Regions from separate parts of the Homo sapiens genome. Here region 2 is linked to region 1. The links are contacts of gene promoters, found by promoter capture Hi-C in human tissues and cell types (Jung and others, 2019). All regions are on one chromosome and are shown on one strand. The core of a region is centred on a gene start or on the middle of the fragment in contact, and the rest is flanking DNA. Distances in the headings are between cores, read along the strand shown. Region 1 holds the start of VAMP3 (vesicle associated membrane protein 3). Region 2 has its middle 5.5 kb from the start of DNAJC11.

Region 1 (2,700 bases), core at 185-2,684:
TTTAGTAGAGACGGGGTTTCACCATGTTGGTCAAGCTGGTCTCGAACTCCTGACCTCAAGTGATCCGTCCACCTCGGCCTCCCAAAGTGCTGGGATTACAGGCATGAGCCACCGCGCCCGGCCCAGGAAGGTACTCATCTTTTAAAATCTTCATCAAAGGCTTTATTTCTCCCCATGCAGATCTTTCTTAACCACTCTGACTCTGAAGTCATTATTGGCTCCATTACTTGGAAAGTATCACTTTGGTTTTTCAGGTATAAAGTCCCGCCTCCTCGAATAGATCACAGGTTCCTGGGTCTTCTTACTCTCTTCTCTGTATCCTAGATAGCACCTAGCATGTGCCTTGGTATACAACAGTCTGATGGGCTGTTTGAACAGTCACTTTACATCTGTCATGTGTCAATGACCAGGGCTACAACAGATCTCATCACCGTCCTCACGGAGTTTAGTATCTGGTAGATAAGTAAGGACCATGCCGTGGCGCTAGACTCTTTCCATGCTTTTCCTCCTTTAACCCTCATAACTCTCTGAGGGGAATATTACTCCTATTTTACAAATGAGTAAAGTGAGGTTTAGAGAGTCAACACAGCTGGCTGCAGGACAGCTTGTTTTTAGATCAGGTCCTGTGTACCTTGGCTCTAGATCTTAACCACTGTGATCTATTGGCACAGCAGCCTCAGCAGGAACATTCGAGGGGGGTCCCCAGCTCCTGGAAGAAACCCGGGGCTTCCTCCGACGGTGAGCAATGAGCAGAATGGAGGTGGAAGAGGGAGTCCTTGTGATTCTTAACCATTAGCATTCTCTGAGTCTTACCACTGGAAGCAGGGGTTTGCAACGTGCTTTCGCTTAAGAGAGCGAAGGCCCACGGTTAAGTGATCTTTCCAGTGCAGATGCCCCTAGCTAGGCAAGGAGCTCTTCGGCCCACAGGGGCTCAGGACAGGGCCGAGGTCCTTTCTTTCGCAACTTCTGGGGCCCAGCGCAGCACCGGGCCGAGAGCGGGCGCTCCCGAACCAGGGCTGTCGTCCCCATTCCTCTCAGGGACGTCGGGGACTAGAAAGGGAAGGGGCGAGGAGCGGGCTGCGGGCGGGCAGCTCACTTCCTCCGGGAAGCGTCTCGCCGCCCCGCCCTTGCCCCTTCCGCGTCCGCCCGATGGCCGCGGGACCCGCCCGGCCCGTCTGCAGCCCGCGACCCAAGGGCCACCGCCCACCCCCAGGCCTCGGGATCCCCGCGCAGCCCCGGCCTGCGTCCGAGTGGCGGCCGGCGGCAACTGGGCAGTATGGCGGTCCCAGCGCGAGCTGCCGCCTGCGGGGCCCGAAGCCGCCCGCGTCGCGTAGCGTCACTCACATTTTGGCAGCTGCGGCGGCGGCAGCGGCGACGAGAGAGGGTCAGCAGAGAAGCGAAGTTGGGACCGGAGGCCAGGGAGATGGGTGGGACGGCGCGGCGCGGGGCAAAGACGTCACTAGGCGGAGCCGGGGGAGTGGGCGGGGCGAAGAGGGGGCGCGCCGGAAGTGGGCGGGGGCGTCGTGGGTGGGTGCGTCCAGGGCGGGGTCAGAGCGAGACGTCCCCTCCCCGGACGAGGTCACTTGGGAACTTGAGGGCCACAGGGGTCCCAGGGCGGTCCGGGCTCTGAAACGCAGAACGCAGGTCAATACAGCTCCCTGTCCGCACCGCCGTCCGCGCTGGCGCTTGGGGACGTGGTCTGTAAACGTGGTGCATTAGCCACTGGCGAGGGACTGCGTGGATAAGTGAGGGTGGGGGCAATTCATGTTATTCTGGGCTCGGGACCATTTCTAACAGTATTAGAGACAGATGACTGGCTTCTGCTGAGTGTTCCAGAGTAACCTAGTGATCCTGAGGGCACCATGTTTCTCTAAAGTAGTTGAAATAGGAAGTCCATTTCGGGTATTTGTCACATGGTGTTGGGTGAGGTTCCCGCTCATGTTTTCATCGGTGACACAAATATTTGTCACTGCAGATCATATTATAATCTGCTTACGAGAGCCTTGGCATCAAGGCTGTAGTTCCTTTATTTCTGTATTTTCAGGCCCTAGCACAGAATAGGTCCTCAGGTTTTGGTCGAAGGGAGGGAAGCACAAATCTGAACGCAGTGAGTTACCTTGTATATATTTGTTACTGAAATATTCCTACCAACATAGTTACCTACACCAAAAAATAAAACACTAATAGGTCATTGGTGGGTCTCTTAGATGAGAAGTGAAAAATACAGTACTTAAATACTATGCTGTTTTTTCCAACTCTAAATAGAATACTTTGAAAAGGGAAACGTTAGTATATATCGAATAAACGAGTGTCACAAAGGCGGTGGGATTTGAGCTGGGTACTAGTGGAAAAGAACTTTCCAAGTAAGGGTTGGGCAAACACCATGAACAAAGACAGCAGTGAAAATGGACGCAGTGTGCACAGACCACCTAGAGGGTGCAGGTTGGGTACAAGTGAAAAGAAGACTGAATAAAGAGGATAAACAAACAAGAAAAATGTCATTTAATTGTAGTGGGCCCTGGAAACCATTGACTTACGGACGTGGGAGATCCATGATGCAAAATTTCTCTGGCAGTAGTGGCCAGATGGATTAGATGGAAGAGGGAGCACTAGGGAGATAAGGAGAGGCTCTGCAGTGAACGGGAAGGGAGCGGCGATGACACAATACTCAGAAAGGACGACGTTCGTAATCTGCTGGAA
Region 2 (2,711 bases), core at 98-2,597, 1.1 Mb after region 1:
ACATGGTAAAACCCCATCTCTACTAAAAATACAAAAATTATCTAGTTATGGTGGGAGGCTGAGGCAGGAGAATCGCTTGAACCCAGGAGTCGGAGGTTACAGTGAGCCAAGATTGCACCACTGCACTCCAGCCTGGGCGACAGAGCAAGACTCTGTCTCAAAAAAAAAAAAAAAACACCAAGAGTGAGTGGTAAAGGAAGGAGAAGCAGTAGGTGCTTCCACTTAGAAGTCCAACAAAGACCAAACTCTACTTCTACAAAATAGGACCCTTGGTCACTCCCCTCCCCAGCCTGCCTCTTCCCCAGTCTTCCTCAGCTCCACAAACAGCCTTACTACCTAGTAACTCAAGCCAAAATATAGAAGTAACCACCAATTCTTCTCTTTTCTTTATTCCCCAAGCCCAATCAATCAGTAATTCCTGTTGCCTCCAATCCAATGTGTGGTCCATGTGTGACCATTCCCATTGCTCCTGACTGAGTCTAAGTCCAAGGCCACCGTCATCTGTTCCTTGGAACACTGCAATAGCCTCTGATGGGGTAGGGGTGAGGGGATGCCTCCATTCTTGCTCCTTTGAATCCAATCTCCCTGGAGAGATCATTCAGGTAGGACAAAAATCAGACCATGTCATTTCCCTGCTTAGAATCCTTCAGTGGTTCCCCATTGTGGCCAGAATGAAATTTCAATTGCTGAGCACCATGTTTAAGGCCCCTGGTGATACCGCCCTGGTGTGGCTTCTCTAACCTCCTTTCCTATCACTCTCCCACCTTCGTCAGCTCTGCGCTCACCTGCTCTCTCCCTGGTCCTGCACACCAAACCTGTTCCTGCCTCAAAGGCTTTGCCCTGGAGATTCTTCCCCCTTGCAAAGCTGGGTCTTGCAAAGCTGGGTCCTTCCCATCATTCAGTTCAAAATCACCTCCTGGGATAGATCTTCCCAGACCAACCAATGTGGAGTACCTTTCCTGCACCGGAGATGTTCCACCATTACATCACTATGTTGTATTTTACTTACACACTGATCATCTCAAATTATCTTGTGTATTCACTAATTTGTTTCTTTTCTGCACCTGCCCCGTGCCACGCTGAGTGTTCATGTGGCGCCCGGCCTTGAGTGTTACTTTCACTAGCACAGCACCCATTTCTCTCTTGTGAATTGCTGAGACTCTAGTGCCCATTTCAGGACTCTGTCTTCAGACTTAAGGATAAGAGGAATAGACACTAGGGTGGGGGGAATGTATAGGCTATTAATATGAGATGAAAATGAAAAGATTGCCAGGTAACACTGCAGTACAGTTGAAGTTAGATAGCACGAACTCTGTATTTTCCAAGACTTTCTCCACCTACTCTTGACAGCCTGGGTGAGAATAGAAAGGTTGACAACAGAGACAACATAAATTTTGGGCAGAGCCAAAGGACAAAGGACTGTATCACTGAAACGGCCAAGAAAGCAGACTGGAATGGGGTACCCCTAAGAGATCTGATGGATTTTGATAGATCAATACATAGAGACTAAGGACCTAAAGTCCCAAGCAGTGAAAACCAGTCCCACAGGCACAACGGAAGAATGACATTGCAGGTAAAATGCTGAGTGGCGTTAGATTCTCAGCCTCTCTGGGCGGCTATCTCCAAAGAGGCAGGTGTGGCTCTTCCCCCGGGGTATCCCGACCCTTCTGTAATGATCATCTTGGCTAAAGACTAGTCAGTGAATACTCAGAAAGAAGATAACATCAAGAAAATTTAATTATTGAATGCTGGCAAAGTTCCCCTTCTTTCCTTAAGCAAAGGATCTTTTTTCCCTATCTCCTTTAGCAGGGTTGTCAGAGCTCATGAGGGAGAGGACGGGCAGGCTATGAATGGCAAGCATGCAGTAAATCCCAGTCTGGACTCAGTGACAAAGGAGTAATAAAAAGATTATAGGTAATTTTTCCTCCTGAATTATAGAGAGGGTGTGGATTCAGCCTGGCTATAGAAGGGGTGGGGCAGGCTGCCCACCTCTGCTCTCAGGAGCGTTACTCAGGAAAAGGGGGAAGGGCTGCAAGGCCTCCAGCTGGGGTTACAAATCAAAATACAGGATTCTGGCCAGTATGGTGGCTCACGCCTGTAATCCCAGCACTTTGGGAGGCCAAGGTGGGCTGATCACCAGAATTGCTTAAACCTAGGAGGCGGAGGTTGCAGTGAGCCAAGATCATGCCGCTGCACTCCAGACAGGGCAACAGAGCAAGACTCCATCTCAAAAAAATAAAATAAAATAAAAAAATAAAGCAGGATTCCCAGAAAAGTAGTTATTTAGTATATGTATACATCCCCATACAATGTGATGTGTGTGTGTGTGTGTGTGTGTATGTATATATATATATATGTTTTGTTTTTTTTTTGAGACAGGGTCTCAATCTGTCACCCAGGCTGGAGTGCAGTGGCATTATCACAGCTCACTGCAGCCTCGACCTCCCCGGGCTCTGGTGATCCTCCCATCTCAGCCTCCCAAGTGGCTGGGACCAAAAGCATGTGCTACCATGCCTGGCTAATTTTTGCATTTTGTGTAGAGTTGGGGGTTTCACCATGTGGCCCAGGCTTGTCTTGAACTCCTGGGCTCAAGAGATCTGACCACCTTGGCCTCCCAAAGTGATGTGATTACAGGCATGAGCCACTGCACCCAGTCCTTGGTATACTTATACTAAAAAATTCTTCATTGTTCATCTAAAATGCAAATATAG

What was found. The method cuts DNA at HindIII sites, captures the fragments that hold promoters and counts their contacts. A contact is called where the count stands out against the background at its distance.
Region 2: a contact is called between a fragment that was not itself captured here and the fragment with the promoter of VAMP3 in region 1, in 1 of the 25 tissues and cell types used here (dorsolateral prefrontal cortex).

Annotation. Positions count from the first base shown.
Region 1 is chr1:7,770,030-7,772,729 of GRCh38, reverse strand. VAMP3 (vesicle associated membrane protein 3) reads right to left here and starts at 1,434. Exons shown (of 5, transcript NM_004781.4): 1 at 1,345-1,434. The coding sequence starts at 1,346. RefSeq lists silencers at 1,071-1,300, 1,265-1,507 and enhancers at 1,741-1,790, 1,534-2,230. The HindIII fragment of the contact is 8,393 bases long and covers 1-2,700 here.
Region 2 is chr1:6,705,971-6,708,681 of GRCh38, reverse strand. No RefSeq gene overlaps it. Among named protein-coding and RNA genes, the nearest start is that of DNAJC11, 5.5 kb to the right of the region's middle. The HindIII fragment of the contact is 6,570 bases long and covers 1-2,711 here.